7 separate regions of the Homo sapiens genome follow, and all the other regions are linked to region 5. Evidence: promoter capture Hi-C in 16 types of primary human blood cells and fetal thymus (Javierre and others, 2016). All regions are on one chromosome and are shown on one strand. The core of a region is centred on a gene start or on the middle of the fragment in contact, and the rest is flanking DNA. Distances in the headings are between cores, read along the strand shown.

Evidence for each region. Contacts are between HindIII fragments. The CHiCAGO score rates a contact against its expected background, and 5 or more counts as called.
Region 1: a fragment that was not itself captured here is called in contact with the fragment with the promoter of FTX in region 5 in 3 of 17 cell types (monocytes, M2 macrophages and M0 macrophages); the score reaches 9.8 in monocytes.
Region 2: a fragment that was not itself captured here is called in contact with the fragment with the promoter of FTX in region 5 in 1 of 17 cell types (neutrophils); the score reaches 5.5 in neutrophils.
Region 3: a contact is called between a fragment that was not itself captured here and the fragment with the promoter of FTX in region 5, in 2 of 17 cell types (neutrophils and activated CD4 T cells). The highest score is 5.9, in neutrophils.
Region 4: a contact is called between a fragment that was not itself captured here and the fragment with the promoter of FTX in region 5, in 7 of 17 cell types (naive CD8 T cells, total CD8 T cells, naive CD4 T cells and 4 more). The highest score is 12.6, in naive CD8 T cells.
Region 6: a contact is called between a fragment that was not itself captured here and the fragment with the promoter of FTX in region 5, in 1 of 17 cell types (M2 macrophages). The highest score is 5.8, in M2 macrophages.
Region 7: a fragment that was not itself captured here is called in contact with the fragment with the promoter of FTX in region 5 in 1 of 17 cell types (neutrophils); the score reaches 6.0 in neutrophils.

The regions. Positions count from the first base shown.
Region 1 is chrX:74,564,835-74,568,257 of GRCh38, reverse strand. No RefSeq gene overlaps it. Among named protein-coding and RNA genes, the nearest start is that of RLIM, 48 kb to the left of the region's middle. RefSeq lists an enhancer at 1-424. The HindIII fragment of the contact is 1,397 bases long and covers 736-2,132 here.
Region 2 is chrX:73,907,124-73,910,835 of GRCh38, reverse strand. No RefSeq gene overlaps it. Among named protein-coding and RNA genes, the nearest start is that of JPX, 35 kb to the left of the region's middle. The HindIII fragment of the contact is 9,060 bases long and covers 1-3,712 here.
Region 3 is chrX:73,860,603-73,864,445 of GRCh38, reverse strand. No RefSeq gene overlaps it. Among named protein-coding and RNA genes, the nearest start is that of XIST, 9.8 kb to the right of the region's middle. RefSeq lists an enhancer at 169-816. The HindIII fragment of the contact is 3,050 bases long and covers 855-3,843 here.
Region 4 is chrX:73,977,570-73,981,419 of GRCh38, reverse strand. All of the region lies in intron 2 of JPX (JPX transcript, XIST activator), which reads right to left. Among named protein-coding and RNA genes, the nearest start is that of JPX, 35 kb to the right of the region's middle. RefSeq lists an enhancer at 3,271-3,830. The HindIII fragment of the contact is 1,950 bases long and covers 1,537-3,486 here.
Region 5 is chrX:74,291,641-74,295,088 of GRCh38, reverse strand. FTX (FTX transcript, XIST regulator) reads left to right here and starts at 1,515. Exons shown (of 7, transcript NR_028379.1): 1 at 1,515-1,737. It overlaps LOC124905199 (a long non-coding RNA gene), which reads left to right and starts at 2,493. Exons shown (of 2, transcript XR_007068266.1): 1 at 2,493-3,331. RefSeq lists an enhancer at 2,261-3,051. The HindIII fragment of the contact is 8,135 bases long and covers 1-2,420 here.
Region 6 is chrX:73,839,015-73,842,496 of GRCh38, reverse strand. It overlaps XIST (X inactive specific transcript), which reads left to right. Exons shown (of 6, transcript NR_001564.3): 1 at 1-1,115. Among named protein-coding and RNA genes, the nearest start is that of XIST, 12 kb to the left of the region's middle. The HindIII fragment of the contact is 250 bases long and covers 1,748-1,997 here.
Region 7 is chrX:74,585,229-74,588,947 of GRCh38, reverse strand. It overlaps RLIM (ring finger protein, LIM domain interacting), which reads left to right. Exons shown (of 4, transcript NM_016120.4): 4 at 1-3,719. Among named protein-coding and RNA genes, the nearest start is that of RLIM, 28 kb to the left of the region's middle. The HindIII fragment of the contact is 3,039 bases long and covers 1-2,949 here.

The DNA.
Region 1 (3,423 bases), core at 185-2,684, 270 kb before region 5:
TCTGCCTTGGGATCCTGTTGATCTGTGACCTTACCCCCAACCCTGTGCTCTCTGAAACATGTGCTGTGTCCACTCAGGGTTAAATGGATTAAGGGCGGTGCAAGATGTGCTTTGTTAAACAGATGCTTGAAGGCAGCACGCTCGTTAAGAGTCATCACCACTCCCTAATCTCAAGTACCCAGGGACACAAACACTGCGGAAGGCCTCAGGGTCCTCTGCCTAGGAAAACCAGAGACCTTTGTTCACTTGTTTATCTGCTGACCTTCCCTCCACTATTGTCCTATGACCCTGCCAAATCCCCCTCTGCGAGAAACACCCAAGAATGATCAATAAAAAAAATAAAAATAAAAATAAAAATAAAAAAAATAAAAAAAATAAAAAAAAAAACAAAAAAAAAAAACAAATTGCTTTGCAAAACAAAAGTTTTTACTTTTGGTGAAGTCCAGTTTATTATTTTTACTGTGAATTGTGCTTTTGGTGTCATGTCTAAGAAACTCTGCTCCAAGCTCTAGGTCCTGAAGATTTTCTCCTGTTTTCTTTTAAAAGTGTTGTAGTTTTACATTTTACATTTAAGTCTATGATCCATTTTGAATTTATTTTTGTGTCTTTTTGCCTATGGATAGCCAATTACTCCAGCACCATTTGTTGAAAAGTTTATCATTTCTCAATCAAATTGATTTTGCACATTTGTGAAACATCAGTTGGTCATAATTGTGTGCCATACTATGTCAAGCTTCTCTATTCTATTCCATTGTTCTATATATCTATTCCTCTACTAATACCACACAGTCTTAATTACTATAACAATAATAATTCTTAAAATCAGATGGAGCTGGGCACAGTGTTGAATGCCTGTGATCCCAGCTATTTGGGAGGCTGAGGCAAGAGGATCCCTTGAGCCCAGGAGTTCAAGGCCAACCTGGGCAACATGGCAAGACTTTGTCTCTAAAAAGAAAAAAAAAATCAGATGGATTGATTCCTCCCACTTTATTCTTCTGCAAAATCAATGTAACTATTCTAGTATTGTTACCTTTCCATATAAATTTTAGAATAATCTCATTTATGCTTACCAAAAAAATATAATGCTAGTATTTTGATAGCGTATGTCAGTTTTTTCCAAATTGATATCTTTGTTGAGTCTTCCAGTCTATGAACACAGAATATCTTTCCAGTTATTTATGTCTTCCTTGATTTCTTTCATCAGTATTTTGAAATTTTCAGCAGAGATCCACTGTACATTTTGTTAAGTGTGCATCTAAGTATTTCATTTTCGTTGTAGTGATTAGAAATGCTGTTGCATTTTCAACTTCAGTTTCTGCATATTCATTGATAGTTTATAGAAATATGATTGATTTTTGTATGTTGGTGTGTTGATATTGTATACTGAGGCTGAACTTATTAGTTCTGTAAGGTTTTGTTATATTTCTGGGCATTTTCTATATAGACCATCATGTCACTGCCAAATAGTTTTATTTACTCCTTTCCAATCTATATACAACTTATTTATATTCCTTGCCTTCTTGTTTTGGCTAGAACTTCCAATACTGTGTAAATAAGAGTGGTGAGAGTGGATTTGTATTTGTAGATGCTCTTTATCATGTTGAAGTAGTCCCCCTTCATTCCTAACTTGCTGCAAGTTGTTTGGTTGTTGTTTTTTTTAAATCATGAATAGGTGTTGGATTTGGTCAAATGCTTCTTCTGCACCAATTGGTAGGATCATATAATTGAAAAAAGATCATAGGATTCTTAATTTGTTGATATGGCTTATTACATTGAGTGAGCTTCAAATATTAAGCCAGCCTTGCATATTTATAATAAATTCCAATTGGTCATGGTGTGTAATTCTTTTTATACATTATTGGATTTGGTTTGCTAATATTTTCTGAAGAATTTTACATCTGTATTCATAAGGTATATTGGTCTATGGTCCTTTCTTTTTTTGTACTGTCTTTGTTTGGTTTTAGTATCAAGGTAATACTGACCTCATAAAATCAGTTGGGAAGTGATTTCCTACTTTTATGTTTTCTGGAAGGGATTATATAAAATTGCCGTTAATTCTTCTTTGAACATTTGATTAAATTTTCTGATGACTGAATGACTGGCTCCACATAGGTTTTTCTTTTGGAGAAGCTTCCTTTTCAGGGAACTTTTTAAATTTTATTTTTAACTTATGAGGGAATATATTAGATCTATGTATTTGTGGGGTACACAAGATATTTTGATACAGCCATGCAATACATAATAATCACATCATGGAAAATGGGGTATCCATGCTCTCAAGCATTTATCCTTGTGTTTCAAACAATCCAGTCATACTCTTTTAGTCCTTGTAAAATGTACAATTAAATTATTTTGACAATAGTAACCCCGTTGTGTTGTACTATCAAATACTAGGTCTTATTCATACTTTCTGGTTTTTTTTTTTTTTTGTACTCATTAAACATCCCCACTACCCTTCCCAGTCTCTGATAACCACGCTTTTACTCTCTATCTCCATGACTTCGATTGTTTTGATTTTTGGATCCCACAAATATGTTAGAACATGAGATGTTTGTCTTATGTGCCTGGCTTATTTAACTTAACATAATGATCTCCAGTTCCATCCATATTGTTGCAAATGACTAGATTTCATTGTTTTAAGGCTGAATAGTGCTCCATTCTGTATATATACCACATTTCTTTATTCATTCATGTGTTGATGGACACTTAGGTTGCTTCCAAATCTAAGCTATTGTGAACAGTACTGCAACAAATATGGGCATGTAGATATCTCTTCAATACACTGATTTCTTTTCTTTTGGGTAAATTCCCAGCAGTGGGATTGCTGGATCATACGGTAGCTCGATTTTAACGTTTTTTGAGGAACATCCAAACTGTTCTCCATAGTGATTATATTAATTTACAGTCCCACCAACAGTTTATGAGAGTTCCCTTTTCTCCACATCCTCTCTAGCATTTGTTGTTACCTGTCTTTTGGATAAAAGTCATTTTAACTGGGGTGAGATGATACCTCATTGTACCTTTGATTTGCATGTCTCTCATGATCAGTGATGTTGAGCACCTTCTCATATGCCTGTTTGCCATTGGTATGTCTTCTTTTGAGAAATGTCTATTTGAATCTATTGCCCATTTTTAATTGGATTTTAAATTAGATTTTTTTCCTATAGAGTTGTTTGAACTCTATATATTCTGCTTACTAATCCTTTGTCAGATGGGTAGTTTGCAAATATTTTCTCCCATTCTGTGGGTTGTCTCCTCACTTTGTTTGTTGTTTCCTTTGCTGTGCAGAAGCCTTTTAACTTGATTTGTCCATTTCTGCTTTGGTTGCCTGTGCTTGTGAGGTATTACTCAAGAAATTTTTGCCTAGGATAATGTCCTGGAGATTTTCCCCAATGTTTTCTTGTAGTAGTTTCATAGGTTGAG
Region 2 (3,712 bases), core at 347-2,846, 380 kb after region 5:
TAGTCCCAGCTACTTGAGAGGCTGAAGTGGGAAGATGGCTTGAGCCCAGGAGGTTGAGGCTGCAATGAGCCGTGATTGTGCCACTGCACTCCAGTCTGAGTGAAAGAGTAAGACCCTGTCTCAAAAACAAAGAAAAGTCCCCCCCACCCAAAAAAAACCCACCCAATATCATTCTCTAGCATGGTAACAGCTAAATTCCCATAAATGTGTGTATATGCATGCATGTGTGTAGGGTAGTGTTTGGGTACTAAATTTTAACATTTTCTGTCACAAGTAGATGTCAGAGGAAGAGTCATTAAATAAAAAATATATCCTGCTTTTCAATGAAATGCATTATTGTCTTTTAGTGAGCCTGTCACTTTGACCGAAATACCATTTTTCTGAAACTCATACAATTTGTATTTCTGGTAAGAAATAAGATGGGAAAAAAGCTGAATAAAATTCATTTCTTTATTAAAGAGTGTCTGCTCTGTGCCAAGCACTGGGACTGGAGCCAATGACATATTCATGTAAGAATAAGCTATAGCCTCTGCTCTCAAAGATACAGCACTGTAAGCATCCTAGTAGTCAAAATGCTAGAAGAGTTGAGAGAAAGGAACAATCACGTATGATGTGGTTATCAGAGACTGCTAAAAGGAGGAAGTAAGACTTGAATTGGTCTTTTGATTGAAATGGAAGGGATTACATTTGATTGAAATGGAAGGGATTACATTGCATGTAAAAGCATAGACGTGAATCTGACAAAGACATAACAAAAGAAGAAAACTACAGGCCAATATCCCCAATAAACACAGATGCAAAAATCCTCAAAAAACACTACCAAACCAAATCAAAAAGTTAATTCACCATGATCAAGTGGGCTTTATTCCTTGGATGCAAGAATGGTTCAGCATATGCAAATTAACAAATGTGCTTCACCACATAAACAAAATTTAAAACGAAAACCATATGATCCTTTCAACAGACACAGAAAAAGCATTTGATAAAATTCAACATTCCTTAATAATAAAAACCCTCAACAAACCAGTCATTAAAAGACCGTATCTCAAAATAATAGGAGCCATCTATGACAAACCCACAGCCAACATCATGCTGAATAGGCAAAAGTTGGAAGCATTACCTCTAAGAACTGGAACAAGACAAGGATGCACACTCTTGCCACACCTATTCAACATAGTACTATAAGTCCTAGCCAGAGGAATCAGGCAAGAGAAAGAAATAAAAGGTGTCAGCCAGGCGTGGTGGCTCACGCCTGTAATCCCAGCACTTTGGGAGGCCGAGGCGGGTGGATCAAGAGGTCAGGAGATGGAGACCATCCTAGCTAACACAGTGAAACCCCGCCTCTACTAAAAATACAAAAAATTAGCTGGGTGTGGTGGCAGGTGCCTGTTGTCCCAGCTACTCGGGAGACTGAGACAGGAGAATGGCATAAACCCGGGAGGTGGAGCTTGCAGTGAGCAGAGATCATGCCACTGCACTCTAGCCTGGGAGACAGCCAGACTCTGTCTCAGCAAAAAAAAAAAAAAAGAAAAGAAATAAAAGGTGTCTAAATAAAAAAAGAGGAAGTCAAATTCAAATTATCTCTTTGCTAATGATATAATTCTATACCTAGAAAATCCTAAATATTCCCCCCAAAAACTCCTAGGCCTGATAAATGACTTCTGTAAAGTCTCAGGATACAAAATCAATGTACAAAAATCTATAGCATTTCTATATACCAATAATGTTTAAGCTCAGAAACAAATCAAGAATGCAATCCCATTTACAATAGGCACACACACATATACAACAATACATAGGAATACACCTAACGAAGGCAGTGAAAGATCTCCATGAGAAGAACTACAAAACACTGCTGAAAATAATCACAGACAGCACAGACAATTGGAAAAGTATTCCATGCTCATGGGTTGGAGGAATTAGTATCATTGAAATGTCCATATTGCCCAAGGCAATATAGAGATTCAACACTATTCCTATCAAATAGCCAATGTCGTTTTTACAGAATCAGGAAAAACCTATTCTAAAATTCATATGGAACCAAAAAAGAGCTGGAATAGCCAAGCCAATTCTATGAAAAAGAATAAAGCCGGAGGGAGGCGGAGCTTGCAGTGAGCCGAGATCGTGCCACTGCCCTTCAGCCTGGGCGACAGAGTGAGACTCCGTCTCACACAAAAAAAATAAATAAATAAAATAAAAAGAATAAAGCTGGAGGGATCACACTACCCAACTTCAAACAATACTACAAGTAACCAAAAACAAATGGTACTGGTACGAAAATAGACACATGGACCAATAGAACATAATAGAGAACCCGGAAATAAAGTCACATAGCTACAACCAACTGATCTTTGACAAACTCAACATGTATAAACAATGGGGAAAGGACACCCTATTCAATAAATGGTGTTGGAAAAACTGGGTAGCCATATGCAGAAGATTGAAACTGGACCCCTATCTATCAGCATGTATGAAAATTAGCTCAAGATAGATTAAATACTTCAATATAAGATCTAAAATTATAAAAATCCTGGAAGAAAACCTAGGAAATACTCTCTTTGATATTGGTCTAGGCAAAAAAAAAAAAAAAATTATCACTAGGTTCTTAAAAACAAATGCAATAAAACCAAAAATTGAACAAGTGGGACCTAATTAAACTAAAGAGCTTCTGCACAGCAAAATAAATTACCAACAGAGTAAACAGAAAAAATGGGATAAAATATTTACAAACTATGATTCTGGCAAAGGACTAATATCCAGGATCTATAAGAAACTTAAATCAACAAGTAAAAGACAACCCCATTAAAATGTGGGCAAAAAACATGAACAGACCCTTCTCAAAAGAATACATTCAAGTGGCCAGCAAACATATTAAAAAAAGTTCAGGCCAGGCGCGGTGGCTCATGCCTGTAATCCCAGAACTTTGGGAGGCCAAGGTGGGCGAATCACGAGGTCAAGAGATCCAGTCCATCCTGGCCGACATGGTGAAACCCCATCACTACTAAAAATACAAAAATTAACAGGGTGTAGTGGCTCATGCCTGTAGTCTCTGCTACTCGGGAGACTGAGGCAGGAGAATCACTTGAACCCAGGAGGCAAAGGTTGCAGTGAGCCAAGATCGCACCACTGCACTCCAGCCTGGTGACAGGGCAAGACTCGGTCTAAAAAAGAAAAAACAACAAAGTTCAACATCACTAATCATCAGAGAGATACAAATCAAAATGACAATGAAATACCAGCTCACACAAATCAGAATGGCTATTAATTATTAAAAAGTAAAAAGGTTGTAGAGAAAGGGAGTGCTTATACACTGTTGGTGGGGATGTAAATTAGTTTAGCCACTGTGGAAAGTATTTTGGAGATTTCTCCAAGTAGAAAAAAATAGGACTACCATTCGAGCCAGCAATCCATTAATGAGTATATACCCAAAGGAAACAAATCATCTACCAAAAAGACACCTGCACTCATATGTTTATCTCAGCACTATTCACAATAGCAAAGACATGGGATCAACCTAGGTGCCCATCAATGGTAGATTGGATAAAGAAAATGCACATATACACCATGGAATACTATGCAGCCATATAAAAGAATAAAACCATGTCCTTTGCAGCAATATGGATGCAGCTGGAAGTTAGGATTAGAGGGGTGAGTCACTGCTGCCAGCCAACATGCTTTTCTATGTAGAAAATTCCAAAGAATCTCCAAAAAA
Region 3 (3,843 bases), core at 1,130-3,629, 430 kb after region 5:
CTCATCCAAATATTCTTGGCAGGCTCTCAGGCGTGATTTGAAGAAAACCTTGTTGCTGGAGTCCTTGAACAAGCTGGCCTACGCCTGGGTCAGTAGGTAGACAGGCCTGACTCCTAAACTGCAGGGTTGAGTCTGGACCTGCATCCACTTGGGTGAACCTGTTAATTGGGACTGCACTGATGAGCCCAGAGCCTGGGTCCATGAGTCTGAGGCTGAGACCTGTGTCTCCAGAGGCAAGCCTGAAGCCTGGTCCACAGAGGCTGATCTAGCACTTGATGGGGTGGGCCTTAGACCTACATCTACAGGGGCTGGGCAGGTGCTGGGATGATCCTGGAGCCTGAGTCCACAAGCACTGGCTTGGCACTGGGGCTGGCCTGGACCCTGAGTCCATAGTGCAGGTCTGGGTCCTGGGCCCACAGGGCCTGGCCTGGATCCTATGTCTGCAGATATAGTCTTGAAGCCTCAGTCCATGGGATCTAGCCCGCCATTGGCGTCTACTACAGTGGGCCTTGACCCTGCGTCTGCTGGAACAAGCCTGGATCTTGTGTTTTCTGGAGCCTGTTTCCACTGGGATCAACCTAGGCTAACCTGGTGCTAGGGCTGGTGTAAAGCCTGGGTTCACAGGGTCTAGTCTGAAGCCTAGGTCTATGGGAACTGACTTTGTGCCTGGAGATCCTGGGGCTGGTCTTAAGCACGGGGCTGTCAGGCTCAGCCTAGAGCTCATGTCCACTTGTCCCAGCCTGGAGGCTGGGTGTGTAGGTGCTGGCCTAGAGGCTAAGACTGTGAGGGCTGGCCTGGGTTTGGATGACTTGAGGGTTCCTGTGACCTGAGTACACTGGGGCAATCTTTAAGCTTGTGTCTGTAGTGGCAAATCCAGCACAGGGGTCTACTGGGACAGGCCTGGACCCTGGGTCTGCTGAAGCTATGAAGCCACAGGGTCCAGCTAGAGTGTGAGGTCATGGGGACTGGCCTGGTGCTGGGCAGGCCTGGAGCCTGTGTCTGTGGGTGCCTGCCTGGTGTTTAAGTCCAGCATTGCTGACATGGTGCTGGAGCAAGCCTGAAACCTGGCACCACAGGGGCTGGCCTGGAGATGGGTTTGTGGGTGTCAGCCTAATGACTAGAGTTGCAGGGAACAGCTGATTGCTGGGGTAGAACTGAAGATTGGGACTGTGGGGGCTGGCCTAGTGGTGAGCTGGTCTGGAGCCTGGGGCTGTTGGGGTTGGCCTGGCTCACTGAGGTTTTTTTAATGTGTAGATTAATGTGTCTTATCAAATTTGGGAAGTTTTTTTAACCATTATTTCTCCCTTTTTTTTAATGCTAGTTCACTCTATCCCCTCCTGAAACTTCCATAATGTGTGTGTTGGCATCTTGATGGTGTTCCATAGGTCCCTCACATTCTCTTCATTTCTCTTAATTATTTGTATTTGTGCCCCTTAGACTGAATAATTTCAATTGACCTATTCAAGTTGTTTCTTTCTATTGGCTGCTCAAATTTTCTGTTGAATGCCTGGAATGAATTTTTTTGTTTCAGTTATTGTATTTTCAGCTCCAGAATTTCTATTTGGTTCCTTTTTATAAGTGCTATTTCTAATGTATAATTTCTGTTTGTTGAGACATTATTCTCTCTGTGTTTTTTAGTTCTTTGTCTATTGTTTCTTTTATGTCTTTGAGCATATTTGAAATATTTAATTTAAACTCCTTGTCTAGTGGAGTGAGGTCAGCATGATGTCAGAGTAGGAGATTCAGCCTTCCTCTCCCTGTGAAGAACAATTCTGCAACTATCCATGAACCAAAATATCTCTGGAAGAGGCTAGGATCCACTTAAGGTGACACAACAATACAGTAGAAGAGAAAACCCAAGAAGAGCCACACAAAAATGGTAATAAGAACAAGTTCATTTCACCTCCATCACTGCATCCTTCATGCTGACACTGCTCAGCATGGAGAGGGACCTCCCTAGCTTAAGTTTGCCTTGCAAGACAAAGCAGAGCAAGGTATAGAACCAGTTTTGCCAGTATTTTAGGACACTGCCTATATGACTAGCTTCAGTTTCACCCCACCCAGATCTCTGGGGGTAACCTGCATAGCTGAGATATCTGGAGACAGCTGAGAACAAAGACAAGGGATGAGGGTTTTTTTTTTTTTTTTTTTTTTTTTTTGAGACGGAGTCTTGGTCTATCGCCTAGGCTGGAGTGCAATGGCGTCATCTCGGCTCACTGCAACCTCCACCTCCTAGGTTCAAGCGATTCTCCTGCCTCAGCCTCCTGAGTAGCTGGGATTACAGGTGCCCACCACCATGCCTGGCTAATTTGTGTATTTTTGGTAGAGACAGGGTTTCACCATGTTGGCCAGGCTGGTCTCGAACGCCTGACCTCAGGTGATCCACCCGCCTCGGCCTCCCAAAGTGCTGGGATTACAGGGGTGAGCCACCGCGCCTGGCCTGGATGAGCTCTTTTAGAATCAGCCAAAAGGTGGAAGTTACTGTGACCCCCAGTGGCCTACCTGACATGGGAAAGCAGCAGACTTCTCCACTGAGGACCCAAACAGCCCCTGGAGCTGCTGTGTAGACCCCACAGCCTTAACTGCTGAGGATTCCTCAGTGTTTGAAATTGTGGAGCCCAGCAGCTTGTCCTGCAGAGGAACATAGCAGCTTTTACTACTGAGAAAAACAAATGCCAGCACACCAGCAATAACCCCCCTGCCACTTTTGCTACTGAAGGCCTTGCAGTTTTCTTCACCTTCATAGTCTTAGGTGCTGGCGTTACCTCCCCTCCCCATTCCCAGGAGCCATGTAGGGCAGGATTGCTATTGCTGCAGTTTCCTCAGCCTGGTGACACAACCCAGGAGCCTTGAAGTCTTTAGGTGCCTAACCAACCACCCTCCTCCCCAAAGCCACCTGAACTGCTTCTGTTGTGGTTGTCCCAGCCCAGGGTACTACTGCAGTGGCCTTCATATACCGCAGGTGCCTAAGACAACCATCCTTTCCAAAGCCACCCCTGATGTTGCTTACATGGGTGCTCTGGCCCAGAGGCCCAGTGCAGCTGTTGCACCTGTGCCTGCAAAGAGCCCCAAAGCCCCTCACCTCAGAAATTGACCCCACATACACTCAAGGCTGATCTCTGCAGGACTACTGCATGCTGCCAGCCCTGGTTCCTGTAGTGGTGCATGCATAAGCCACTGGTCCTGCCCCATGGGTCCTGCATTTATCACCATGCTGCACATGCCTACCCACCTCCAGTTGAGCCCTGCAGTTGCCACACACACACAAACACACACATGCAGACAGCCTGACCCCTGTTGCCACCATGCATCTGGCCCTTGTGATCAGGCATGGGCAACCTGCAGCACCTACCACCACATCTATGCTCACATTCAGGCCCAGCTTCGGCATATGACCCAAGCTCTTGCTACCATGTGTGAGACTACAACAGGCTGCTGCTGCAACCAGACTCCACAGTGGAGCATGTGTACACTTTCAGCTCTGGCCTCCACTGCTGCCAGTCCCAGACCCTAGCTGTTTGTCACATATACATAGCTGAGGACCCCAACAGCCCTCATAATCTTTGCGAAACTCCCACAGCTCTTGACACAAAGGACCATGCAGTTGCCAATGTTGTAGGCATGCCTGAGCTGACTAGACTCGGCCCCTATCTGCCGCCACACCACCAGACCCAGAGCCACACTATGCCCCTGCATTTGGTTTCCTATGGTCTAGACCCAGTGCCACAGTGCACCTAGTATGTCTCCCTTTTTCCTCCTTAGGTAAAGGGCTTTCCTTGCCAAAGCCAGGCCATAATGTCTGAAAGAGGTGACTGCTGCTTCAAAAGTGCAGACACCTTTGCA
Region 4 (3,850 bases), core at 1,262-3,761, 310 kb after region 5:
GAAAAGAAAATATACTAGGACATTTACATTAATGTTCACAGCAATGTTTATTCATCATAATAGCCCCCCCCCACCACCAAAAAAAGGAAACAATCCAACTTTCAGTCAAGTGCTGCATGGAGAAACAAAATGTGACATTAGTAAAACTGAACAACATTCAGCTCTAAAAAGGAATGAAATACTTATTAATGCTACCACATGACTAAATCTCAGAAACATTTTAATAAATGAAGGAGGTCAGATTCAACGGAATAAATATCGTACGATTTCATTTACATGAAATGTCTAGAAAGGGTAAACTTACAGACAGAGGATATCACGGTAGCCTGGGATGGGAGCAGAAGTGACTTGAGGAAACTTTTGGAAATAATGAAATGTTCTAAACTGGATTATGATGACAACTTCAAGCCATAAGTTTACTAAAACTAGGTGAATTGTATACTTACAATAGATAATTTTATGGTATGATATTATACCTTAATAACACTTAAAGAACCAAATTGAGTTTTTTTAATGAAAACATACAACATTCACAATAAAAAATATCCACTGAAGATCTCAATAACAGAATGCAGCCAGGAACATGAAACAGAATTTGAAGACAGATCAACAGAAATTACCCAATCTGAAAAATAGAATTAAAAAATAGATTGAGCCAGGCGCGGTGGCTCAAGCCTGTAATCCCAGCACTTTGGGAGGCTGAGGCGGGCGGATCACGAGGTCAGGAGATCAAGACCATCCTGGCTAACATGGTGAAACCCCGTCTCTACTAAAAATACAAAAAAATTAGCTGGGCATGGTGGCAGGTGCCTGTACTCCCAGCTACTTGGGAGGCTGAGGCAGGAGAATGGCGTGAACCCGAGAGGCGGAGCTTGCAGTAAGCTGAGATCATGCCACTGCACTCCAGCCTGGGCGACAGAGCAAGACTCCGTCTCAAAAAAAATAATAAAATAAATAAATAAATAAAAAATAGATTGAAACAGAACAAACAGCACCTCAGGACCTATGGAACAATATCACAATATCTAATATACATGTCATCATAGTCTCAGAATGAGAAAAAAAAATCATGCAGAAAAAAAGTTTGTAGAAATAACAGCCAAAAACTTCCCAATCTGATAAAAGATAAATCTACATATTAAACAACTTCAGCAAAACCAAACAATATAAACTGAAAAGACACACCCAGAAATACTATAAACTGTTGAAAATCAAAGACAAAGGAAAAAATTTGAAAGCAGCTATTAAAAAAACAGCACATTACATCTGAGGAAGCAATGATTCAAACGACGGCAAATTTTTTATCAGAAACGATGAAGGACAGTAGTAGAAAAATAACTTTAAAGAGCAACAAGAAAAAAATCCCATCAATTAACAATTCTATATCCAGTGATTGAAAATGTCTTTCAGGAATGAAGGTGAAATGAACACATTCCTAGATGAAGGGAAATTAAGACAATTCACCTCAAGCAGAGTGCTGATTAAATGATAAAGGGAGTTCTTTAGTCTGAAGGGAAATGATACCCAGGGAAAGCTTAGATCTTTAAAAATGAGAGAACAAAGAACTGGTTTAAAAAAAAAAAAAAGAAGTGGTAAATTACTGAGTAAATATAAAAGACTATTTTTCTCCTCTTAAGTTCTTTAAAATATGTATGACTCCTGAAAGCAGAAACACAATGCAAATGTAAAACACATGGCAACTACTTAAAGAATCAGTGAGGGAGTATAAAGAGCTTTATATGGATGTAAGGCTTCTATGTTTTACCTGAAGTGGTAAAACACTGAATCTACATAAACTGTTAGATATGTATTTATGAGACAATTCGAATGTATAAAAGATAATTAAGACCGGGCACGGTGGCTCATGCCTATAATCCCAGCACTTTGGGAGGCCGAGGCAGGCAGATTACCTGAGGTCAGGAGTTCGAGACTACCCTGGCCAACATAGCAAAACCCTGCCTCTACTGAAAATACAAAAATTAGCTGGGCGTGATGGCATGCACCTGTAGTTAGTCTCAGCTACTCATGAGCCTGAGGCAGAAGAAGTGCTTGAACCCAGGAGGCGGGGGTTGCAGTGAGCTGAGATTGTGCCATTTGCACTCCAGCCTGAGCAACAGAGCGAGACTCTGTCTCAAAATAAATAAATAAATAAAGATAATTAAAATGGAATATTAAAGCCTGGGCGCGGTGGCTCACGCCTGTAATCCCAGCACTTTGGGAGGCCAAGGCAGGTGGATCACCTGAGGTCAGGAGTTCAAAACAAGCCTGACCAACATGGTGAAACCCCGTCTCTACTGAACATAAAAATAATGAGCCAGGCATAGTGGCGGGCACCTGTAACCCCAGCTACTTGGGAGTCTGAGGCAGGAGAATCGCTTGAACCCGGGAGGCGGAGGTTGCAGTGAGCTGGGATCACACCACTGCATTCCAGCCTGGGCGACAAGAGCGAAACTCCATCTCAAAAAAAAATAAATAAATAAAATAAAATACTAAAAAATGTTCAAATGATACAGAAGAAAAAATAAGAAACAGAAATAAACAAAAATAACAAAGACAACAAATCTCAAATATATAGGGCACTAGAAACAACATCACTACCTCACTTAGAAAAGGCTTGACAAAAGCAAAGTTATGATTTTCTTGACCCTATCAGAGAACTGAAGTTACAGGAAAAAAAAAAATACAGAAATCTAAAAAAATGGTAGGTGCCTGCAGGGGAAAACAGAATCTGAGCATTTGATTACTGGGACAAATGCCATGAAAATCAATATAAAAGCAGGTAGAAAGATTTAACTAGAAATTACAATAAATTGCTAAAGGCCAAGTGTGGGCTGGCCTGAGAATAGGAATCCCCTCAGGTTTCAAATATGGGGGTGGGGTTGCAGCCACCTGCAGCTGTTATCAATAGGAAGCCACAGGAAAGATCAGAGATCACAGAGAAAGACCCCTTTGGTACTATCTGGGGGAAAGGAGTAGCAGCTATGGCTGAAAATCTGCCCCAATCTACCTTTCTTAAAAAAAAAAAAAGTTTCGCTCTTGTTGCCCAGGCTGGAGTGCAATGGCGCGATCTCGGCTCACCGCAACCTCCACCTCCCGGGTTCAAGTGACTCTCCTGCCTCAGCCTTCTGAGTAGCTGGGATTACAGGCATGCACCACCACACCCAGCTAATTTTGTATTTTAAGTAGAGACAGGGTTTCTCCATGTTGGTCAGGCTGGTCTCAAACTCCTGACCTCAGGTGATCCGCCCGCCTCGGCCTCCCAAAGTGATGGGATTACAGGCGTGAACCACCACGCCCCACCAAAAAAAGTTCTTCATTTACAGAAAAGATCATGAAGCAGTGGAAGGGAATATAAAGCAGACCAAAATTCCCCAGAGGCCCGTCTCCTATCTCGCCTAAGAAGCAAAAACCTTAGAGCAATTTGCAGGGACACCCTGGAGTGGAAGCAACAGGGGCTGGGTAAGGAGGTAAGGAACACATAAAGCTTTAGCCATAGGGGAGGAATGGGAATAAATACTAGGCATTGACTGGAAAAGAAAGACTTATGACAGCCACACCCACAAGACCCAGATTCACAGTGCCTACTTAAGACTGAGTTTAAATTAGAACATTAGAGAACATGCCTCTTTTTCGCCCCAACCACAGACTAAACATCAAATAAAATTAAAGTAATGCACAGGGGAAAGCTGAAAACCACAGGCCTTCTCTAGAGAAGAGTGAAAAGGTGAAAACCCACGCCAAACAAGGACACAAAAACAAGGTATCATTATAGGGTTTGAAGTTTCTGATACACAGAGAGTAACCATGGTAACAACAAAACTTCAATCCCAGACCAACTCCTGACTAATTT
Region 5 (3,448 bases), core at 266-2,765:
AATAACAGAGATAAGAGCATTTGTTAAAATAGTGTTGTAGAATTTGGGGTAAAATTTCTTATATTTTAACTTTTGTGTAATAATAAATGATTATTTTAATTTAGAAGAGGTTCTTTGTACCACTGAGATTTCGGCATTTCTTTTTTATTTAATGCATGCCTATTTCTCTTTTTTCTTCTTCATATGCACATTGTTGTATAATTTTTTGGGCGTATTATATAACAAATGCAAACCCATTTTTCTCTGAATAATGTTGATATAACATTCTTAAGTTAATTTGAGAGGATGGTGATGTATAAGTTTATGAGTTTTAGGATTTATGAATTTGCGGGTCTCAGTTTTTGGTATTTCCAAACTGGCTCTTTTAGAAAGCAATAAGAACCAGACACCAAAGTAAAACATAATAAAGAGAAACAAAATATTATTTTGTATTCTTTCTAGTTCACACCCAAAGAGGGATCTATTTCAGAGCCTCTTAAGTAAATAATGCCATTTCCCTCAAAATTAATATTTGAGTTCTTACAGAAGACAAGAACAGGCCTTGTAGTAAGCAGTGAAGGACATTGAATCTCATTTTTAATGTCCAGACAATACCAGGGTTGTGAATAGAAAGAAAAGAGCTTTCCATGTTGGTGGTCTACTGCCTCTTACCCCCAAATTGATTGAACACTTTTGCAGTTTTTGTTCTGGTTCCCTGTCTCTGGATCTTCCCTGTGGGTCATCATCAAAAAGGTGTTCTCTTTGCCCAAGACAGGCTGGTTGAGCTCACCCTGAGAGCTGCTTTGGAGAGGATGTGTGGAAATATTTTTTTTCTTTTTTTGAGATGGGGTCTCACTCTGTTGCCCAGGCTGGCAACATCATAGCTGGCACAATCATAGCTCACTGTAGCCTCGACTTCCTGGGCTCGAGTGATTCTTCCACCTCAGCCTTCTGAATAGCTGGGAGTACAGGTGCGCACCACCACGCCCGGCTAATTTTTGTATTTATTTGTAGAGACGGGGTTTCGCCATGTCACCCGAGCTGGTCTCGAACTCCTGAACTCAAGGGTTCCGTCCACCTCGGCCTCCCAAAGTGCTGGGATTACAGGTGTGAGCCACCGCGCCCGGGCTACAATTATTTAAAAAAAAATTTTTGCGGTAATTTTTACAAATTTCAACATCAGGCATAGGAGGAGAGGAGTAAGAGGCCCAAGAGGGCTGCAGACTGGCAGGGAAAGTGAAGAATTGAAGGGTAGACCACTAACGATAGCAGAGGAAATAAAGGTAGATGGTGGGCTAAGAATAATGGGAGAGGGATTGACGAAAGAAGTATGGGCTGAGGGAGGGATGATGGTGGAGGCCAGTGTGACCGAGGGGAGGGGAAAGGTGGAAGAAGCAGAGTGGGATAGCGTCCTGGGAAAGAAGTGAAGGAGGTCGGTGGACCGCTAAGGGTTAGACTCCTAGAGGCTGGAGAGCGGCGCGTGGGGGAGGCGGGGCGCGGAGGGGGGGTTAAGGGGCGTTAGCAGCGCATGCGCTGGAAGCACACTGCGGCGATTCTGGAGAGGTTGTCCTTTTCTGGCATCAGCGTTGCGGCTCGAGGCAAAGCTGGTCCTGTGCCTGCTGTCCATTGCCGCTAAGGCCTGCTGCTGCCATTCAGGCGTGTCTCTCTCTCTCTCTCTCTTTCATGCCGCTCTCTCCACCCCATCTTGGGACGGCCAGCTCTAAGAATTCCTGCTACGACACTGAATTCAACCAGGAGGTAAAGGAACGATGTAGGGGAAGAACAGAACATGGAGGGCGGCGGAGGGAACTTGGGCCAGGAAGATCCTTAATTTGTGCATTTTTCCAGTTCACGGGAGGAAAAAATGGAATACGTTACAGGCCCCAGTTTTCCAAAAGGATGTTGAGCATTTGCTTCCCATTGTGAAAGGAATGCGGGTTCCTTTCCTCTAACTAGAGTCAAGGCACCTGAGCATCGGTGTTTTCCATAATGTTCCCTGTTTAAAACATTTGTGGTTCGTCATTTGTAGCAGATGTATTTAAAGGGCGAGGCCTTAGGATTATGTTCATCCGATGGTTTGTGAAAGTTTTCCTTGCCTTTGTTCAGGTTGACCGGTCTTATGTGAATCCTGGGGTACTCTAGCCCCCTCCCTTGGAGTTGGGACCGATTCCATCTAGATCTGGGATTCACTCTGATCACCTGCAACGCCTTCTTTCCCCGATTCAACTTCCCTAGTTTATCGCATCTACTCGCATTAGGGAAGGCTGGTAATGGCTCTCCTTGGGCACTGGGGCAGAATTGTGGCGAGAAACACGTCCAGATAGCATCAGGCATGCATACTGTATACAAATGGGAGCAAGAAGAGAGAGGACTATCGCGGTGCGCAGGGTATTTGAGAGGCTGGATGAGGAGGCGCGGCGCCGAGGGGCGGCGCTCAAGCTTACAGTATTTGAGAAGACCTGAGTTAAGGGGACGGGCTCCAGTGGGGCGGGGGTGGGGAGAGGGAGGCACGCATGCGCAAGGCTTGAATGGCGTCGGGGTTGGAGGGTTGGAAGGTCGGGAAGTGAAGGACTCGCAGGCATATTTAACAACGCAAAGTTGCTAGGAGTTGGTACCAGCGTTTGGGAGGTAGAGGTGGCGCTCATGCATATTTGAGACAACATCTGGATGGTTGGGGAGAACGGTAAGGAGGAAGCGGCGCGCATGCGTATTTCAGACGGAGTGCCGGGGAGGGGAGGCGCTCAGCATTCGGGTAATTAAGGTTGCAAAATGGCGAGGGGGGAGGTAAGCTGTCTTTGCTTGGCCATCTTGGGCTAGCAGGCCTTGCAGAGAACTACCTTTTTAGCTGAGTGAAGGGATCAACCTGAGTTGGAGTTCTCCTATGCTGTGGCCAGATCCACTAGAAATTAACCCAGAATCTTAGCCTCTCAGTGGCCTATCGGTAAGTGGGTACAAAAATGAGGAGGCGATGATGACTCTGCAAAAGGTTGCGGCAGCTGGCGGTGCGTAGGAAATGCGTAAAAAGGGAGCACTTGGAGACAGGCCACATTTGGGCAGTACGCATTCGGAGGGCTCTCTGGCTTTCCGATCTTGGGTCGCTGTACTTGGCTCTGAATACAGTCACCCCATCAGAGTAGCAAAACACTGTGGTTGTAGTGTGAGAATCCAATGTTAATGTTGGCCGAAAGCTCTTGATTTTCTTCCCTGAGAACATAGGCGTGAGGATTTGGATGTGTTTCCAAATGCTTGTTACTCTTTGCCGTAAACCTGGAATTTGGACCTATGGCTGCCTGGGACTCATACTGTCGTGGAGAAAGATTGAAAAGTAGTTAATGGCAGTGGTGGTATGAAGGTAACCTGGGCTTTCACCCTTTCCTTTATTTTTTCTTCTGTAGAACTTTCAGCACGGTTTTGTCAAGGGAGAAGATTAGAGTTTCTATTTTAAAGGCAGATGTACTGTCATGACTCT
Region 6 (3,482 bases), core at 623-3,122, 450 kb after region 5:
TTATTAATGATCCTAGTTTCAATTATTGTCAGATTCTGGGGACAAGAACCATTCTTGCCCACCTGTGTTACTGCTTTACTGTGCAAAATACTGAAGGCAAGTCAGACCCAGGGAGCTGGATTGCCATCCTTTATTTTGTGTTTCCAGTGTACACTATAAAATTGTCTCCCCAGGAAGGAAGGTTGGCACTTTCTCTGCATTCTTCTTTCCAGAGCAGATTGCCTGGTTAAGAATCTCTTGTTGTCCCCTTTGTATATTGTTATTGTAAAGTGCCAAATGCCAGGATACAGCCAGAAAAATTGCTTATTATTATTAAAAAAATTTTTTTAAGAAAGACATCTGGATTGTAGGGTGGACTCGATAACCTGGTCATTATTTTTTTGAAGCCAAAATATCCATTTATACTATGTACCTGGTGACCAGTGTCTCTCATTTTAACTGAGGGTGGTGGGTCTGTGGATAGAACACTGACTCTTGCTATTTTAATATCAAAGATATTCTAGAGTGGAACTCTTAAGACCAGTATCTTTGTGTGGGCTTTACCAGCATTCACTTTTAGAAAAACTACCTAAATTTTATAATCCTTTAATTTCTTCATCTGGAGCACCTGCCCCTACTTATTTCAAGAAGATTGCAGTAAAACGATTAAATGAGGGAACATATGCAGAGGTGCTTTTAAAAAGCATATGCCACCTTTTTTATTAATTATTATATAAAATGAAGCATTTAATTATAGTAATAATTTGAAGTAGTTTGAAGTACCACACTGAGGTGAGGACTTAAAAATGATAAGACGAGTTCCCTATTTTATAAGAAAAATAAGCCAAAATTAAATATTCTTTTGGATATAAATTTCAACAGTGAGATAGCTGCCTAGTGGAAATGAATAATATCCCAGCCACTAGTGTACAGGGTGTTTTGTGGCACAGGATTATGTAATATGGAACTGCTCAAGCAAATAACTAGTCATCACAACAGCAGTTCTTTGTAATAACTGAAAAAGAATATTGTTTCTCGGAGAAGGATGTCAAAAGATCGGCCCAGCTCAGGGAGCAGTTTGCCCTACTAGCTCCTCGGACAGCTGTAAAGAAGAGTCTCTGGCTCTTTAGAATACTGTAAGTACTACTTCGTAGCTATTAAGTAATCTTTTTCCTATTCTATTTTCTTTCTCTTAGATGCCACCTATAGAAAAGTCAGAGGGTCCAGTAAGTTTCTTTCCTTCTTCCCACCTCATCTGCAATATATATATATAGAGAGAGAAATAGATACATACATACATGCATAAATACACATATGTGAGTTAACCAGCAGAACTGTAGAATTAATATTGTGGACCCAGCTCTATGCTAGGTTACACTGATAACCTGGGTAGGAATGATATCATCCTATATAATTTCATTCCTGAGATGATTTTATCGTTGAGGAGCTAATGTGAGCACATTTGAAATAACTTTAGAAAATAATAAGTGCTGTTTTGTGTGAATCATAAGTAGTAGTTTTAGGAAGGGAACCCACAAGGATTTGAAGTTGATAGAATAAACTTAAGGAAGTGGGTTTGCTTTTTCTCTTTAAGCCAAGATAGGATTAATATTGCAGCCATCTGGATAGTCCAGTTGGTTTATTTTAATTTCATTTGTTTTTTACCTCTTTTGGAGCCATGGAAAGAGATGAAAGGGATAGAGCATAGCCATTGTGTTTGGCTATTTGCGAAGGTTGGCAAATTAGTGATTGCTAAATCTCATAAGCTTGAGTATTTTAAAGTTCAGAGATTGAGGGCATAAATCTAATACTTCGGCTCCTTCCACAATTTTACTACATTTCTGCCCAAGAACAGATGACCATGGATAATGCATATCGTAGATACTTTTTAAGTTTGGAACCTTTTTGCCAAGAGGGTAGTGGAGAAGTGAAGTCAAAACCTTGACCTTCCTTGCCTACTTTATGCTGTAGTTTATATACCTTCTTTCCTCCCACCTTTCGTAAAGCTAAAAGAAGCTTAGCCTCCTTAATGTTTTCCAGCTGACAAAATATTGTTTAACATAACATTCGAAACTTTTTTTCTGGTGCACATTCATGCATCACAGCAGGAGCAACAAGAACCATATAAGTGAACTGGCTTCACTTATAGCCCGTTTTAATTCATATCCATATTTCCTCAGGGCTTGTTTCCATGCCTCCCAGCCCCACTCCATATGCTTAACAACATTGTCTGGCTGACTGAGGGTTATATACATCATGGTCTTGAACCTTCTTGGAAACATGGTCTGTGCCATTGTTTCTCAAACCCAAGTAATGCTTCATGATGAAACACCTTCTAAAGGAACAAAATTTTCTGAGATCCTAAAAAAATGTGTTTTGAGGAACACTGACTTAACAAAGATATTTGAAATGTAAATATGTTTTCCAATTTCACGTTGTCTTTGTCAAAGATGTGTTTTATATAACTTATGTAGAACTTGGGGATCCATTAGAATATATTCACAAATCCCCAGGGTTATCACCCCAATTTGAGAAACCCTGGTCTATGCTTATGAAATCTTCTATTGGTAATTAAATTGTCATTCATTGTCAACATACAATTATAATTATTATTGGAATTTGTTTTAAATGAATGAATTTGGAGGTGATTCTGTACCTTAAGTCAAGAGGAAGGATGGCTTGATTTTAGGTGGATTGATTATACTAGATAGCATCCAAAGGTGAATCTTGAAGCTGTATTTAAATTCATTGCTTGAAATAATTTCCACCCTTAAGAAAAATCTCTAGCAATTGTAAAAAGGGATGCTCTGGAAATGTGGGCATCTTCAAAATAGAGATAATTCTTGTGTTAGTTCAACAAATATTATTGTACCAGGTGCTGGAATAAATAGCAAAACCAAAGACAGGATTTATATCAAGGAATTTGCTTTCTTATGGAGGATGCAGAAGGAAATCATTATGGTTTTGGGCAGAAATGCTTAGACTTTAGTCCTGGCTCTGAGTTTGGTTCAGATCACCATCAATCTGACCATCTCGAGACTGCTAGTGAAATAAGATAGGGGCTTATATCAAATACCTAAATCCCTGAAAATGACATTTTGTGATTTGGAAAATTTTCAAAAGTCTAATGAAGGAAACTTTTTTGGCATTTCTTTAAATGATTATTGTCATTTCTTTTCTGACTTTTCCCTTTATAAAACCTTAACATGTAGGATTGGAGGAAGTTTTCTGACCATTTTCTCATATCCTCTTTCAGCTTTATCTTTCTGTAACTTCCATTTCTCTAGCCACCTCCCTAAATTACAGAAGACTGTGAGACCCAGGGCTGCTGTGATTAGGCATTCATAATTTCTTTTCAGGGTGTTTGTGCCCTGATTATCAAATGTACAGCTTGAAGGGAGTTCATGTCTTAAAGTAATGAATTAAGAGTTGACCTTTGTTGACTGCTAAAATATTCTTATATGTGAAAGCATCCTGGAAAAATACGTTACCAGCTTAAAGAG
Region 7 (3,719 bases), core at 181-2,680, 290 kb before region 5:
TGAATACAAGTGTTTTAGTGGAATTTGCTACTTAATTTTTAATCTTGCGATGTCCGTGATTATTACATGCTTACTAGTGTTGTGGACATTGAAGACAAGGTCATTCGTAGGTGTCAGATTACAATGGAGAACAAAAATCGTTTTCCCCCCACCCACATCCAAACACCATTCTCGAGGGAGCATTTCTTGCAAAACACCTTACATTTCATTTTCTATCTTTGCACTTTTTCTTAAGTACAGAAAAGTTGTCTTTAAGACCTAGTTTGAACTTCATGCAGTAAGAGGAACAAGGATAAACAATGTTGGGAGTTCACATTGTTCAGAGCATAAGGAAAAGTACCAAAACCCAAATTTTCTTGAATATTTCAGATGTTTTTAAAAACTCACTTCTAGTCTGAAACATTTGAATTGTTTTAACTCTGAGCAGCTGACAAAGTTGAGGTTTTTTTGTTTTGTTTTGTTTTGTTTTGTTTTTTTGAGACAGAGTCTTACTTGGTTGCCCAGGATGAAGTGCAATGGAGCGATCTCGGCTCACTGCAACCTCTGCCTCCTGGGTTCAAGCAATTCTCCTGTCTCAGCCTCTCGAGTAGCTGGGATTACAGGCGCATGCCACCACACCTGGCTAGTTTTTATATTTTTAGTAGAGATGGGGACTTCACCGTGTTGGCCAGGCTGGTCTTGAACTCCTGACCTCAAGTGATGTGCCTGCCTCGGCCTCCGAAAATGCTGGGATTACAGGCGTGAGCCACCATGTCCAGCCAAAGTTGAGGTTTATTAGTACTATTAGAAACAAAATTGAGCAAGTTAAGTTAAAAGTTTGCTGACTTTGTATCAACACTATAGAAGATGAGCCACCTTGTTAATTTGGAATATTTGCTCTGAAAAGAACATGTTAGTTACACCTTAATGGTGTTAATGGAGGTGGGGATTGAGAAAAGTGTTCACATTAGTGTTGGAATGTAGGTAATTGTACAGTTTATAAGACCTTTAGCACCAGGAAATAAAATATGTGTGTGTACACACACAGTTTTTAAAAACGATTGGAATTCATCCAAACCTTAAGATTAGGAAACTGATTGGCTGTAAGTGTTGCCTCAAGTAATGTGTCCCCCGCCCCATAACATGTCTTTTCTGTGCCAAGTATCCTCTCCTAGTGTCAGTGTCTCAAATTATATTTATGAAGGGTTATCACATAATATGCTTTGTATTTAACTACCTGCTTCCCAGGCGTCCATGACATGAAATGGGTGAAGCATCAGCCATGACTTTCGGTCAGTTCCCAAAATACCCAAATGATAGGGAGGTAAAGATTGCAAAATTCCTCTTAAAAGGCCATTTTTACAGCTTGCTAAAATACAGTGGCACCTTATGGTTGTTAATATTTTTTCTTTTAAAGATGGAGAATGTTTTTATTCTTCCCCTTTTCTCCTTTGTTCTTTTGCGAACAAAAAAAATTATAATCTGCCTTATTTGATTTTTTTTTTAAGTTTTACCTTACAGGCTTCCCTGTCACATGTTTTACCATATTAAGTACATAGAAGCCATGTTTGCAGGGCACTTTTATTCTCCTAGTCTTATAAGACTATGCTAATTGTTACTTTCTGAAGTATTCTGTACCTTAGTATGCAAGATTGTTAAGGCACATGTTAAAGTGTCAGGTGTGTTTTTTTCCCTTTAATTCTTCAGTATGTTTATATTCAATAACAGTATTGTAATTCATTGAGTTAACTAGTAAATTGTGTGCTTTTGAAAAAACATGAAAAATGTAAATTGACAGCATACTTCATTTGGAAAAAAGTAAAAGATCCGAGGAACTAGTATGTCACTTATTTATTTTTATTTTATTTTATTTTTTACTTTTTGAGACAGGGTCTTGCTCTGTCACCCAGGCTGGAGTGCAGTGGCATGGTCACAGCTCACTGCAGCCTTGACTTCCTGGGCTCAGGTGATTCTCCCACCTCAGCCTTCCAAGTAGCTGGGACTACAGGCATGCACCACATTGCCTGGCTAATTTTTTGTGGAGATGGGGTTTCGCCATGTTGTCCAGGCTGTTCTTGAACTCCTGGGCTCAGGCAATTTGCCTGCCTCATTCTCCCAAAGTGCTGGGATTATAGGCGTGAGCCACTGCGCCCAGCCTTACTTATTTTTAAATCAGATTTTTTAATCAACTAAAACAGCTATGAGTTAAGTACCTGCCCTGCAAAAATTTTTAGAAAAAGTTTTAGGATTATGAAATTAAGAATTATTTTCCTTAACTGGAACAGTTCTAAAATTTATCTGATACTTCTCTAACAAGTGAGTGATCTCATGTAACCCCAGTTTGTATCTTAAAGGCTGCAGCATAGAATTGAGCTGTATAACAGTGTTAGAACTGTCAAGTGATAATCACAGAACAGTTTGTATCGGTTTTATAATTCTCATGTCTTGATCAGATCTGAAGGAAATAGGCATACCCTCCAACATTCTAAAAATTATTTATTTTTATTAGGATTTGTTTATTAAAGTTCCACGAGCTGCTTTATGGTCAGTTGGGCTGAGTAGTAGATATCTTAAAGACATGCAGTGAAAGTGAACCCTGTCATATCATGGTGCCTCTTTCAAGGTTCCTCTGTAAGTTCCTCATCTTGCAGAATTATTTCAATACCAAGGTATGGTTGAACCAGCTGTCCAGCCTTAACTCTATTTAGTGCCCCATTACTAATGTTCTTTTAACTGGTTTGTATGTGTTTTAACTGTCCAGTGTTTGGATTTTACCTCTTGATAGCTCCATTTGTCCCTGGTGCTGCTTTTAAGGATGTAGGGCCATGTGATCAGGTATCAAGTTGAGTAGGTACGCAGTTGGCCTGGTGATGTATCTGTGCCTGTTTTATCTTCTCCCAGGAAGAGCTGCTTTGGTATAGTTGTTTACTTGGATTCATACAAAGAACAGGGCAGCAATCTTGGAAAGCTTTCTGAAGCTTATAAGAACCTGAAGGGGTTTGGAGGGGGAACAGTAACAAAGGCTGCCTTTATGTCTTTGGTCACAAAGCACATAGATGTATGTTCTGTAAAGACTAAAGTGATTGTTATACCAGGGCTTCCTGACCTTCGGGAGAGACTCAAAAAAGCAGAGAGGAGCACAAAGTGAAGTTAATTTGGTTGGCTTGCTTTATCTGGTTTCTCATTTTCTTTCAATTTAAACCTGAACATAACACCCTTCTCCGATACCTATCCAGCAGACTCCTGGTTGGGAAGCCCTGTATTAAATTTTGAGAATGTACACAGTTTTCTTTTGTACAGTGCTTTACAACTGCTAAAAGTTAACTTGTTTAAAGCAAAACAAGACCTTGAAAGGTCAATCATATTAAAGCTGGTTTGATTATTAATAGTTATCTTTTAGGAAGAAGCTTTTTTCCCTATGTAAGATGTCATACTGCAGATTTAAAATATAGACTATCAATAAAATGCATGAAGTGATCATTTGTGCTTGATCATCTCTCCTTGGGTTTTTCTTTAAAAAGGGGAATCTGCTATAAAGGTTCTGTTGCTTCAAACCAATGTCAAATAGACTTGATTTTTAGAGTCATGGAATTACAGTGCAACCTTGATTTTTATTCCCCTCACTGCTATGAGTGTGGGCAGGTACTGGTTTATATGTTATAACTTCCGTTTTATCTGTGTTGTGTAGTTGAATGGCTTAATCGTTGAGTGGTAAAATAAAAGATTATATTCCAATACAA